Linked DNA regions of Homo sapiens: region 1 is linked to region 2. The links are contacts of gene promoters, found by promoter capture Hi-C in blood cells and fetal thymus (Javierre and others, 2016). All regions are on one chromosome and are shown on one strand. Each heading gives the region's core, a stretch centred on a gene start or on the middle of the fragment in contact. The rest is flanking DNA. Distances are from core to core; before and after follow the strand shown.

Region 1 (6,756 bases), core at 2,233-4,732, 39 kb before region 2:
CTGGAAATGAAGCAGGAAACTGGTGTGGGAAGCCTCTGGTGTCCTTCTAGCCCTGTGTTCTAATGAACGTTTAATGTCAGGTGGGGCGAGTGGTCCGTGAATGCTACCATGTTAGTTTCCTCACTTTTTATGTTGTCCTACAGGAGCAGAGCATGGCTCGTACGAATGCTTATCAAATCAGAAACCACAGCTTCCATGGAGGGCCACCAGCAACAAAACTGGTTCTCATACAACGAAAAATGAGGCAGCCCAAGGCCGCAGTGTGTTCTGCTGCGTGTGTATTTACCTTTTCCATAAGCTGCGCTGCACTCAGGCATGGTTCTCCCTGGCTGGGACCTCTGTAGGGAGACCAGAGTGCCAGGGAAGGTCTTACCAGTGCCCTATTTCTTGATGATGAGTCATGATGAGGCTATTACAAAACAAAGCCTGTTTCAAGAAATGAGTAGTTTTGGCTGATTCAGGCTTCAAGACTTGAAATCTGTTTCCCTTTTGTGAGTTAGAGCAGCTCCTGTTAGCAGTGGCCATTAACGTTGGTGTCTGCCAAGACAGAGGCCCAAGCAGGCCAGGGCAGGCACGGCTTTCTCTTCCCGACTATCACACACAGGTGGAACTTAATCCATGATTCCCTTTATTTCTGAAACAAATCTTTATGTTTTCTTTCAGAAGAGACCTTAATGGCCTCTTACCAAGAAGAGGCTTAAAAGGTTTTCTCTCTAAGAACCAGGTCCTGAACATCTTGAGGTGAAGAGTCAGGAATGGGAGGAATTTAACCACCCAGAGTTGCTGGCAGCTGTGAGGGGAAAGCCTGGAGCCATGTTTGAGAAACAGGCTCCACAGGGGTGGCTTAACTGAAGAGAGGAGAGCAGATCATGAGGCTGGAAAGATGGGCTTGGGGAAGGACTGAGGAGTCAGTGCATAGCCCTCTCTGTCCTCTGGAGCCTTGAGAATATTCGCTTTTAGAGACAGATAAATGGAGAATATCCCGGGCACACCACCAAGCCCTGCCAGGAGCTGAAGCCAGGGCTTAAAGCATCATGTGTGAAGGTCCCTGGGCGGTGCCCTGGAGAATCCCGGCAGAGGCTTCCTATCTCTGGTTATTGTTTCAGCTCTCCACATACCGCTAGTCCCTCCATCATTTAGGCCACAGCATTGTGCTGGCTGTGGCTACTCCCTGTTTCCCATCCCATTGTAACAGACCCCTTTTCGACCAAGTCCTTTCAGTTCGAACAAGAAGACAAAGGCTGGCCCTCCAAGGAGAGGCTTCTCTTTCTAAATATTTACCCTGCTGCCCTGATTCATCATTAAGACTTCCTTTGTGTGGAGCTGCACAGGCACAAGTCATTGCCCCCCAGCCCACCATGCTTGACATGGCCAGTGGTTCAAGCCTCCCTGTCCTTCCCTTGCCTCCTTTAGGGGTAAAAGATGCAGAGGCTTGAACCACTTCTCCCTTCCTGCCTTCTGGAGAGGCCCTGGGCCAGCCACTGGCTGGCAATGCTCAAGAGGTGCCTCTGACAGTGCAGGTTTACTTTCTTTCTTTTTTTACGTGGTCAAAGGATATTTGAAGATTGAAAGTTCACTAAGCATTTTAGGAACTCATTCCAAGGCAGCTCACATTCCTTCAACAAATGTTGATTGAGTACATGTGTGAGATGGGCCTTGTCTTTCCTTCCAGAGCCCTTAGAACCCAGCATAAGCCTGATGCGCAGAAGGTGCTTAGAAATACCAAGAGAATCACAGAGCAGCCACGGGAGGAAGTCATCAGACAGAGAGGAGACTCCTTGCCTACCCTAGCAAGCTCTTCTTCTCACAGTTTTACTGCATATGGTTCTGACGTCACTTCCTAGGCAGGTTTAGCTTTTTGTTTCTGTAGAAGACATTTTCTGGAAAACTGCATAAGTTAGGTTGTTGTAAATTGGAACCTTGGAATTGTCCCAGACTCCTAGAAATGGGATAAGAGGTGCAAGAGTCCTTATCCAAGTGGTTTAAACAGCAGTAAACATTTGTTGTCTCACTGTTTATGTGGGTCAGAAGTTTGGAAATGGCTTAGCTGTGTGGTTCTGTTGTGGGGTGTCTCATGTGGTTGCAGTCAAGATGTCAGCTGAGGCTGCAATCTTTTGAAGGGGTGACTGGGAATGGAAGAGCTGCTCCCAAGATGGCATGCTCACATTGTGGGCAGTTGGTGTTGGCTGTTGGTGAGGGCCTCAGTTCCTCACTTTGTAGACCTCTTCACTGGGCTGCTTGAGTATTCTCAAGACATTGCAGCTAGCTGGCTGCCCCCAAAGCAAGTGTTCCAACAGTGGCAAGGAAAATGCCACAATGTCCTTTCTGACGCAGCCTTGGAAGTCATAGTCCATCGTTTCTGTAACATCCTTGCATTAGTCTGTTTTCATGCTGCTGAGAAAGACATACCTGAGACTGGGAAGGAAAAGAGGTTTAACTGGACTTACAGTTCCACGTGGTTGGGGAGGCCTAAGAATCACAGCAGGAGGCAAAAGGCACTTCTTACATGGCAGCAGCAAGAGAAAATGAGGAAGAAGCAAGAATGGAAACCCCTGATAAACCAATCAGATCTCGTGAGACTTACTCACTATAATAACACAAGAAAGACTGGTCCCCATGATTCAGTTACCTCCCCCTGGGTCCCTCCCACAACATGTGGGAATCCTGGGAGATACAATTCAAGTTGAGATTTGGGTGAGGCCACAGTCAAACCATATCAATCCTATTGGTCAGCCCTGATCAGTGTAGGAGGACACTACACAAGGGGCTGAATACTGGGCGGCGAGGATGACTGGAGTGGTCTTAGAGGCTATCTACTGCACCTTTTAATATGGTACATATTTTCTTGTTTATTACACTTATTTTTCATTGTTTTTCTTTCACTACTAGCTCTTTGAAGGCGGGGTTCTTTGTCTTTCTTTGTTTCCCAAGTTTCTAGAATAGTGCCTACTACATAGAAGGCATGAAATAGATATTTATTGAATTGCATTAATTTGATTTGAATTATTTCCAAACAAAAATCAGTTCCCCCACTTGAAGGGGGTGGGGGAACTGATAATTAGTGCTTCTGACTTGTGTTTTTAAACCAAAGAATCCACTGTCTCTTATTGCTACTTATTAGATACGTCCAGTGTTTGCTATGTTGGCCTTTTTATTTTATTTTTAAAATAAGGCACTCTTGTATTTGAAGGTAGCTACTAAGCAAGATTTACAGGGACATAATCCTGTTCTTCAACTCTACAGGAAATAAAAGGGATCTTTTAAATCTTTCTGTTCCTCAGTTTCCTCATTTGAAAAATCGAATATTGCTGACTATATACTAGGGTGTTTTATGGATTAAGTGAGATATTTTACTTTTAAAGGATTAAAAGTAAAGTATATCTCCTACAGTAAGCACCCAAAAAATAAACTATATCAGTCAATTTTAGAGGTCATCGAGTCAGGAAACAGGCTGTGAGAAAGGTGGAGAAATCCTCTCTGAAACTTTTAGGACTGCCTGGATAATGCGTCAGGCATGTTGTCCTGTGCCGAAAGTATGTCGTTAACACCCGCACTGAGGCTCCTGCTGACTTGGATGACTGGAAACAACCTGGATGCCATTTAGGAATCTTCCTGGGCAAGTTGAGGAAATTGTGCGATCCACTTGCTAACTCAAGAGCACGTTTAGCAGGCTATCATTTGAGATCCTGTAGGTACTGGTCCTGGGCTTGCAGAGATGATAGAAGTGCAATCTTTGGCCTCAGGGGACTCACTGTCTTTAGGGAAAGACAGACAGATAAGCCACTCATTCTGATATAGTGGTCAGTGCAGTTGTTGAGTCCCTGGACCCTTGGGGAAATAAGTGGTGCGGAGACAGCATTATAAATGGGGTGATATAAACTAAGTTTTAGGGTTGGGTAAGAGTTGGGAGCATAAATGATAGGAAGCAGGGAAGGTTATGTCCCAGCAGAGGAAACAGCTTGGGCAAAGGCCTGCAAGCATGATATGGGTAGTGGGAGGGAGCACGTGGAGGTCATAAAGACAGATGAGGCTGAAGGTACAGAGGAAATAAACAGGCTGGAATTTTATCCTGTAGGATTTTTATTCTGTACCCCTGGAAATAGGTAAACGAATAGTGAGTGTGTCAGACTTGTATTTTAAAATCCACTGGTGGCCTTCTGGAGGACAGACCAGAATGGGTGAGACCTGAAGCAGGGAGATGAGAGGGGAAACTGGTGCAGGGACCCTGCAGCCATGGGTAGAAATCGTGGATTGCAGGATTCCACTGGGCATGACCCAGGGACACTCCCAGTCTCATCTGGAAGAAGAATCTAAGGTTTCTTCCCTGATGATCTGCCCCAGTTACTGCCAGTGGAGGGAGTCCTTGGGGGACCACCTTACTATTCAAAAGTGGAAAACAAAGGAGGCAGGGATTTGGTCCAATGACTTTGCACCTGCTTTCTTCTACTGGAGAGGAGGACACCTATTTCAGAAGAGAAGTCCACAACCCCCTATTTTCTCCTTTATCCCATTTGAAATGCTACTGAAGCCTTTACAATGACCCTGTACTTACTCCCAGCATTTAATTTTATGCCTGGCTCATCGTACACTTGGGATAAAGACGATGGTTACATGATTCATTTTCTTCTGGAGACCAGGGCCTAAGACCCACCAATCTTTACCTCCTCCATAAAACATAGCACAGGGTCTAGCTCTTTTAGCAGAACCCAGTAAGTAGATGACATTGGCAAACAAATTCAAGCACTGCTTTCAAACCTTTTCTGCAGAGAAGGTGTGCGCCACATTTACACATACATGTACACACATGTGCCTGCCTCCCCGCCCCACCCTACCCCAGGCTATTTTCCAGAATAGGATTTAACAGATCAGTCTCCACCCCATTCCCTCCCGACCCTGGCTTCATAGCCAGGGAAGCGAAAGATGAGCTGAGTGCTTTTTCTTTTGAGTCAGATGACTCAGATCTCAGTTAAAGGGAGACACATCTGTCATGCTCAGCCTGGGGACTTTGGGACAGGTCTCTGGGGCCAGCCTGCAAATCTTGAACTAACTCACTCCCTTTGATGGGTGATAGGGAATCCTCCACCTGACATGCAGGGACAGAGGGGACCCTGGGTCTCCTGTGCCTCTTCCCTCTGCTGCTAGGTCCCTCCCTCGTGCTGGGTGCTCACCGTAGGGATCCTCATCTCCCACTCTGTGTGTGAGGCAAAGGCGGGAGACATGTGTGAGGTTTTTGTGGTGGAGAAAATCTGGCAGTCCTGAATTTATTCCTGAATCTACCATCTGCTGAGTGTGTTCTTGAGGATTATGATACATTTTTTAAAGCAGTGGGGGAGGTGAGAGGGTGAAAAACTGGTGATTCCTTCTCCACCTCTTCCCTGCTGTTCTTGGAGCCATGCAGAGCCAGGCCTTGGCATCCTGAGGCCGGGTGCACCTGGGAGTCAGATCCAGTCTCAGGTCTGGCTCTGCCACTTTTCTGACCCTGACATTTAGTCTGTTTCCATCATAAAATTGGACAAACATGCCTGCTGTTCACCTGAGGATCCAATGAGTCACTGTATGCATGAGGTCTTTTAAACTGTAGAGGTACTTGGGCCTGCCATTAGTTGATGGTGCTGAAGCAGAACCTAAGAGCCAGCGTTCAACTAGGACCAGGCATGCTGCCACTTGGGGACATCAGTGCAAGGTGTCGCCACAGCTTTCACTCCCAAGCATGGATGGCAGGGAAGCTGGGATGCAGCTTTGGAAGCTGACCTTTGGTTATCAATGAATTAAAATTCACTGATTGCTAAAGGGGGCGGGGAAGAGAAAGGATGAAGCTGGCACCTGCTCTAACGGGGTGGGTGAGCGTGTCCCCTGCCCCCAGCTGCAGCATCCTGGCTTGGCCTCAGAGTCTGACAAATGTCTTTTCTCATAGAAGAAAGGAAGGAGAGGGGGGAGCAAGGCTTCAAGCTGAGCCACAGAAGGGAGTACAAGGTTGAATCAGATGACCCCACCTGCTCTTTCCCACCCCTTTGTAAATACTTCAGATCCTAGAAGAAAAGGAGCATTTTCCCCAGGAAAAGTAACCAACCATTCTGGTTTACCCAGAACTGAGGGGATTCCTGGGATGCGGGAATTTCAGTGTTGAAACAGGGACAGTTCCAAGTGAACTAGGATGGCAGGTTGTCCTACCCCCAAGGTAACTGCCTCCAGATAGTTTATTACTTCTGAATAGATTGCTCAGCTGATCCCTTTATTAACTACAGGAGAAGCAACTTTACTCCCCCTCCCCCCCCACCCCTAGGAGTAAGAGAACAAGGAAACTTCATTTCATCTTAGATTTCTGCATTGGCAGCACTGTGATTGGTAACAAGGAATGGATGATGGATGAAGCACGCTCTTCGATTAACTGAAGGTGATCTACATAGGTCATGGTGAGATATGTTGGAAGACATAAGGCCCATTAAATGCATAATTCATGTGAAAATGGTGAGCTCAAAGATGTTCATCCGGCTCTGCCCGAAAAGAAATCTGAAATAAAATGGATATGTGTTTACCTTTTTTGCTGGAGTTGTAGCTGGTAACCTTGGTATTTGAGGGTTGTAAATGCATGTGCCTAGGGTTGTGTGTTATGGTGGGAAAGGCCTGGATTTGGCAAATTGATCCTCATTTGAGTCTTTGCCTTTCCACTTATTCTCTTTCTCCGAAGGCAGGTATTTCACTGCCCCCAGCCTTAGTGTTCATATCTGCAAAATGGGTAACATACTTACCACAAGG
Region 2 (7,676 bases), core at 2,131-4,630:
TAGCAGAAGAGATTTGAAGATTTTCTTGAATGACTTTGTCTCTCTGGGGGCACTTAGAGAAAGCATTCAACTTCCAGAACCTTCTGCAAAGTAGCCTTTGTGTCTGAAGGAGGGTGCCTTGCCAATGGCTGGGCTTAGTGATGCCTTCAGGGACCTAGTGTATGGATCTGTGGATCCAACTCATCATGATAACATGTGAGGAGGGAAAATGCTTCCATAAGTAGAACCTGCTATCAGTGACTGTACTCTGGCCCTCTGCTTCTATGTGCCTCCTAAACAAATATATTTTCTCTATAAATATCATTCACTGTACCAGCTTTGTGTTCAGGACACATTTTCCTGAACCCATTCCCATCTTCCTCTGTACCCTTGCCACCAAATCACTATATTCATGAAAAGAAGAATCCAGTGGGGAAAAAAAAGATTTTTTTTTTTTTTTTTTTTTTTGACACAGGGTCTTACTCTGTCATCCAGGTTGGAATGCAGTGGTGCCATCAGGGCTCACTGCAGCCTCTACCTCCCTGGGCTCAGGTGATCCTCCCTCCTCAGCCTACTGGGTAGCTGGGACCACAGGTGCACACCACCATGCTGACTAACTTTTGCATGTTGTCCACAGTAGTCTTGAACTCCTGAGCTCAAGTGATCCACATACCTGGGCCTCCCAAAGTGCTGGGATTACAGACATGAGCCACCATTCCTGGCTGAGATCTGGTCTTAACAATGTGGGGTAACTTGTGAGCTGAGGAAATAGTAAAAGCATTTTAGGAACTACCTCTTGTAATTACTCACATTCTAAAATTTTAAAACAAAAACTGCTACTAGCTGATGCTGTTAGCTAATTGTCAGACAACAGACAAACACACTGCAGCCAGAAAAATCCCCACTGAGTTTGGGCAGCTGATTTCTCTGGCATCAAATGAAAGCTTTAGCTATTGCCCCTGAGGCCTGGCTGAGCAAGCCCTGCACCCGAGCCCTCCCTCTGTGTGCCCCCCCTTCCCCACCACTATGGGCCGGAGCGGGTGTTAAGTGTGTGTGTGTGTGTGTGTTGGGGGGATGGGGGTTGAGAAGAATGCAGGCACCCTAGCTCACAATCTTAGGCAGCTACACACCCCACTCAGGACACCACACCAGCATGATTCATCCCACACCTCACAGCCAGGGTGAACTCGGCCTCAATGGACAACAATTTGGAGGCATTGTTTACAAATTAATTTCCCCCTCTAAATAGGCTGTTATAAGAGTGGACCCTTCTGCTTGCCTAGCCTAGGCCCACCTGTCACTGGGACTTCCTAACCAGTGGTCACACTGTATTGATCTTTTTAATCCCCTCTCTTTGAAACACAGAGCCAGCTGATGTGGAGTTCCTCAAAAGAAAGACTCTCCCACTGCCCCTACCTCAACAGGTAGCTGCGGATCCGGGGCTAATTCCCTACTAAAAAGTCTTAATTGGCTTATGGGGAGCCTGAAAGATCTCCCTTGTGTTTACAAGGTGAAAGGAATGATAGATCCCAAATGCCCTAGTCTGTCTTTATCCATTTCTTGGTGGAAATCAGGTGCGTTTTATTTTTTAATTGTTTTTGAAACAGGAACAGAGGCTTTGGAGGTGAGTGGGATAGTGTTTCACTTTAGTGGTTGAGCCAGCAGGGAAAAGCAAGAAAAGCCCCAGAGACACTAATATTAGGCAAGAAACTTGGCGACTTATTTTTAGTTTTTATTTACATGAAGCGTCTGCAGTACAAAAATGTAAACTTTGATAGCTCATAATAGAATAAACTCTTTATGTACAAAAATACATTTTCATATGAATGAAGCATCTTGAATAAATTAAAGTACTCTCCAGCCCTGTGCCTGAATAGCTAAGCAAGAGTCTCCAGTTCTTCCTAGAGCGAGTCTGCAGTGGTGGGGGTCGGGATCCATAATGCATGAAGCCCACTCCTTGTCTCTGCTTTTTAAGCCTTTTCATTGTATTGTCAGCCGGCTCAAACCGAATTTTCATGCTCGTTTTTCTTCATTAGAGTTCTACAAATTGTAAAATTGACTTTTCACCTCGTCTTCAGGGGCTGATCTGTCCCTTTTCTAAATCACACTGAAGTGGTGGCTGGGGTCAGTTCTGAGCCAGTCACAAAGGAGGTTTTGTGGAGTTCAGAAAGTGCAAAAGGAAAGGCCGTCTAGGGGCGGGCAGGAGGGGCGCTGGGCTGAGGGCCGGAGAAACAGACCAAGAGACATCCGCCGCGAGGGTGCGGCGACCTAACAAGCGGCTCAGGTATCCCCGACTGCTTTAAAGCTCCCGCTTCCTCCCTCCGCCTGGAGAGGGGGTCCCGAGGCGGCAGCTGGGGCCCCATCTATTGCCTGCTGACTAGGGGAGGGGGAAAGTAACAGTGTCTACAAAGGGCCTAGTGGTAAGGAATGAAACAGGGCGTTGTGTGGAGCAAGTCTTTGGGCAGGCTTGGGAAGGAGAAAACAGGGTCGCCGGGGCGGTAGGTGAAGTCTTCGGAGGCGGCTGGGCTACTGGGGTCAGAGAGCGGGGAGGCGGCGGCGGCACCTGAGCCCCAGGACTCCGCGTCGCTGGCGGGGCTTGGGGGACCGGGCAGGCAGGGGACGCACTGCGGCGGCAGGAGGCGCTCCCGGGCACCGCCTCCGGGCAGCCCTTGATCCGCCAGGCGCAGTGTCTCGGCCAGAGCCCAGATGTAGTTGTAGGCGAAGCGCAGCGTCTCGATTTTGGTGAGCTTGGTGTCGTCGGGGAACGAGGGCAGCACGCTGCGCAGTGCGTCCAGGGCCGCGTTCAAGTTGTGCATGCGGTTGCGCTCGCGATCGTTGGCCTTGACGCGCCGGCTCCTGCGCAGCGAGTGCAGCAGCGCCTCGGAGCGGACCCGCGTCCGGCCGCGGCGCCGCCGCCTCTCCTGCTCGTCGTCCTGTGCCCCTGGAACCTCAGACGCCCGGGAGATATTGGGCGCGCCCCTGCGGGCCGGCGCGGGCGGCCCCGAAGCGGAGGCTGCCTGTTGGAGTCTGGCACAGTCTTCCTCGTCGGTGAGGAAGCCGGATAGGTCACTGCCGCTGCTGCTGGCGCAGTCGAGGTCGGAGATGCAGGTCTCAAGGCGGGCTGGCATCGTTGCGCTGTGCAGGACCGACGGACAGATAGAAAGGCGCTCAGAGCGCTGCAGCCCGGACTGAGGGCAGAGCCGCCAGGGCGCACTTACGTTCCCAACAGCCTGGGGTTGTTACTCTGTGCCAGTTGCGGGTGCGAGAGCCTGGAAGGGTGCAGGGGCGCACGGAGAACTTGGCCTGGCCTCCTCGCCTCGCCTGCAGGGGCCACGCGCCCGGCCGGTCTCCTGAGTGATGTCGCCGGCGATCAGATCAGCTCGTGTGAGCACCGAGTGTGGCACACGACTGGCCTCAGGACCCCTTAAGTACCCGGCGCAACAATGGGCGCCCCCCTCCCTTGCCACCTCCGCCCCCGCGGCAGCCCGGGTGAATGGAGCGAGGCGGCAGGTCATCCCCGTGCAGCGCCCGGGTATTTGCATAATTTATGCTCGCGGGAGGCCGCCATCGCCCCTCCCCCAACCCGGAGTGTGCCCGTAATTACCGCCGGCCAATCGGCGGCGTCGCGCGGCCCCGGGAGTCGGCTCGGGCTAAGCTGGCCAGGGCGTCTCCAGGCAGTGAAACAGAGGCGGGGTCGGCGGGCGATTAGCGGCCGAGGCACGCTCCTCTTGGGGCGGGCTGGGCGCCCCTCGCTGGGGTGGGACGGGGAGGCGGGGCGCGAGCGCGAAAGTGTGAGCCGCCCAGTGAGTTGCGGAAACCTGGAGGGTACTTGGAGTTTGGGTTCGCATCCCCTCTCCAGCTGCTTAGTGGTCGCGTGACTTTGGACGAGTAATTTAACTTCCCTGAGCATTGCTTTCCCCACCTGTAAGATGAGACAAAAGTTTACCCTGTGGAGGATGATCAGATATAATGTTTGTGGAACACTAAATGTGCAGCATCCGCTGAACAGGGTGAAAATCATTTTCAAATAGACTGGAGAGTGGCCATGCCAGAGGCACAGGGCGCAGGGCAAGGATAAGTGTCGCTGCTCCGTTCAGGCTGATGAAGAAACGGGAAAGAATCTGACCTTCATCTGGGGAGTGCGAAGAGGAGAGTGGAAAAGAGGATCGGGTGATTTCCCAGGTTGCCTTGAGTCTTGGTCTCACCCTTCCCTTCTTTCCCTTCCCTTCTCCACCCTCCTCCGCACCTCTGCCCACAAGTCACCTCAAGATTCTTAATAAGAATTAATAATATGAGAATTTATATAAATAATAATATGAGAATATAATTATTAATATGAGAATTTCCTTTTCTTTGGCGTTCCTGAAACCTTGCCTGCCCCATGCCCGGAGAAATCCGTTGCACACCGTCTCTTGGAGCCCTGCTTGCAGCCTCTGTGGCCCTCTTCAGGGTGAGCCAGCCAGGGGATCCAGCTCCCCTGGCCCGAGAGAGAGCTGGCCCCTGGAGGGCAGCAGGTGACAGTGGAACCCCTTTCCTCCAAACCCCCTCCCGCCTTCGGTGTCTTAAACTCGCCTATTCCAGCAGGTCTTCCCTCTGCATGTCAGGAGTTACTTTTCTCTTGTCACCTACACTCACCCAGGAGCCACAGGGGCCCAGACATCACCCAACTTTGTACTTGGAGGATAAATAGTAAGGAACAGCACTCGATTATAGGATGAGGGTATTAAAAACAAAATGAGCAGCTTTCAGCAAAGTGCCTGCCCCCCACCTGATATCCAAGTGGTAGCCTCAGGCCGGATGCCTGGCCTGCTGCCATGGGAGCCTAGCTGACTCTTTGGGTTGGGGGGGGATTGGCCCCTTTGAGAAAGGGGGCTGTGTAGTGGCAGTTCCCACCTCGACTCACTGACCAGCGCTTGCCTTCTGGCTCAGGGGACTCTGCCCAGCTGTCCCCTTCCCCGACTGCACCCTGCAGGTACCCCTGATCTCAGTGGAAGGCTAGGACACAGTCATATATAAGGGCTCGAGATTTATTAGAAGTCACAGAAAGTGGCTTCGACCAGCTCACTCAGGAAAGGGCAGTTGTTGGATGGATACGGGGGCTTCTCAAGAACTCAAGGGCTTCGAGGACTTGTGTAAACCAGCAGGAGCCCAAGGGTCCTCTCTCTGCCCCCCACCTCTGTTTCTCTCCCTGTGTCAGCTTCCTTTCTTTGGACTGCCACAACAAAATTCCACAAACTAGGGGGTTTAAGGCAACAGAAGTTCATTCTCTTACAGTTCAAGAGGCCAGAAGTCTGTAAGCAAGTTTTTGGCAGGGATGGCTCCTTTTCGGAGGCTCTGAGAGAAAATCTGTGACATGCCTCTCTTGCAGCTTCTAGTGGTGGCTCCTGGCCATCTTGGCCATTCATTGATTGGCAGCTGTGTCACTCCAATCTCTGCCTCCTTTCTTCATGCGGCCTTCCTCTCTGTGTCTTCTCCTTCTCTGTCTCTTGTAAGGACACTTGTCATTTGATTTAGGGCCCAGCTAATCCAGGATGATTTAATCTTGCAACCCTTGCCTTCATTATATCTGCAAAGATGCTTATTCCAAATAAGGTCCCATTCTGAGATTCTGGGTGGACATATCTTATGGAGGCCCACTATTTCAACCCACTACAACAAATGGTTTTCCAAATTCCTGAATGAGAGAATTGGTTTGGCCAGTGTCACTTTTTTGGCTGACAGGTACGTGAAGAGCTTTCCTGTTGAGAAATTTGAATGCATGAGAACCCCTTCCCCATTCCTAGCAATTAGGGTGTGGCCAAAAGATTTTAGTACAGGCAGTTAGCTGCCCCATTTGCAATTTAGGCTCAGAGCTGGTGACAGTCTAGAGTTCACTTGTGTCATGGCAACAACCCGGGAGAGCCAGTGACCAGTGGTGGAAGAGGTGGCCAGGAACCAGTGGACATCCTGTCTGAACTCTTCCCAGGGCCAGCCCTTGTTCCATCTGTTTTTTGAGCCTGGTTCTCCAGCCTTCCCACTGATTGCATGAGCCCTCCCATAGCGGGCCTTTCGTTAGTGGGGCTTTTCTGCTTCAGATAGCCAGGATTAGTGTCTGCGGTTTCATAAATAAAACACCAAGTTAAATCCTCAGGTTGCTGAAGCATAGAGAATTATCCTTGTATTATTTTGAAGTAATCCATTGGCTATGTTGATTGCCTGTGCTGGGCCAGGCACTGTGCTGGACACTGGGGTGACAGGGGTGATAAACTTGGCTGATGGGTATCATGGGCTCTGAGTCTTGCAAGCCAGGGTTCAGTGCCAGCAGAACCTTTGGAAATTATTCATCTATCCACTGCACCTCATACATGGGAAACTGAGGTGGGAGATGGGGAGGTCTTTTTTCCAGGTTACCCCAGGGATCGCTGGTGGTCAAACTAGGCCAGACTCAAGAGTCCTTTCAGGCCCTACTCTATGTTCTTCCATCATAGTCAATCAACAAATATACATGGAGAACCTACTGCATGCTGCCCTGTGTCAGGTGCTCTGTGGAGTGTGAAGCAGGCCTATAGTCCTAAAGGAGAGGAGATGTAGCATTAGGACTAGAGAGGTGTCGAGGGCCTATTAAGGGAGCAGATCTGAAGAGCATTGTGCACCTCCCAAAGGGAAGGCTTCTTGGCAGAGGGGGGACTCGCGAAGGCCTTGAAGGATGGGTGGGATGCGAATAGACAATTTAAGGAAAGAGAGGACTGGGGGTTACTATAGTGGCTATGTGGGTGCTGGTCTGGAGGATAGGGCTTCTGGGTGAACCCAGTGGAAAGAGGGTAAGGGGGCAGTTATGGTGGCCCTTGAATGGCCAGGGCAGCCTTCCTTGTTCCATTCCATCTCCTCCTCTTGCTTCTTTCTCTGAGCAGGGCTGTTAAAATTGTTCTAGTCATTCACTGTACAAGGACATCTGGTAGAGGGGGCAAGTAAGGGCTGAAATCTAGCCTCTCTACCACCCGCCAAACCATGCACCCTGACATGGGCTACACCTGTTCAGAGAGGGCACCTTGTCAAATATGTCCAGACGCACCTTATGAGCTAGCAGTAGGTCTGTGCCTTCTCCTGCCATGCTTCACTCCCTTTCCTGAACCTTAGAGAGCTGAGCAGGCAAGCATCCAAGCCTTGCCCTGCCTGCTCCTGGCTCTTGGGCAGGGCATGTTGTGGCTCCTTCTTGGCTGTTAGTGCCTACCCCTTGTGCTTTTTATAAGTGCATCTGCAGGGGGCCCTCCTATAAGTGATCTACTGAGGATGGAACTGAGCCCTGGCAGGATGAGAATGAACGGGCAGCTTAAGAGGCCCAGAGCCTCTCCTCAAGAGAAAAAGGCCAGGCCACAGTTAGAAGGATGTGCATGCTTGCCAGGGAAGATGAAAGTTTCTCCTGCCCCTCGAAGCCTTCTAAGCATAGTACCTGAGTGTACCCTCATTCTCAGAGTATAATAGAAGGTGATGTGGGCATGTAATAAATCCAACCACAGCAGGCGCTGCTATGGTGAGCACCATACCAGGTGTTCTGCCTGATGTGTGGACATCCAGCTGCCAATCTGCTGGGGGGCAGGGGAGGGTAGCCAGATGTTCCAAGGTGGGGCAGATGTTCCAAGGGACTAAGGATTAAGCTGGAGCTTCTTACACTGTGGTTACCTGGGGTAGTAGTGATGGTGGGGGTCCCCACCCCGTAC

What was found. The method cuts DNA at HindIII sites, captures the fragments that hold promoters and counts their contacts. A CHiCAGO score of 5 or more calls a contact.
Region 1: a fragment that was not itself captured here is called in contact with the fragment with the promoter of NEUROG1 in region 2 in 1 of 17 cell types (megakaryocytes); the score reaches 6.0 in megakaryocytes.

What each region holds. Positions count from the first base shown.
Region 1 is chr5:135,493,202-135,499,957 of GRCh38, forward strand. No RefSeq gene overlaps it. Among named protein-coding and RNA genes, the nearest start is that of NEUROG1, 39 kb to the right of the region's middle. RefSeq lists a silencer at 4,904-5,104. The HindIII fragment of the contact is 7,994 bases long and covers 1-6,756 here.
Region 2 is chr5:135,532,584-135,540,259 of GRCh38, forward strand. NEUROG1 (neurogenin 1) reads right to left here and starts at 3,381. Exons shown (of 1, transcript NM_006161.3): 1 at 1,699-3,381. The coding sequence starts at 3,107. The coding sequence ends at 2,394. RefSeq lists a silencer at 2,956-3,250 and an enhancer at 3,368-3,883. The HindIII fragment of the contact is 9,722 bases long and covers 922-7,676 here.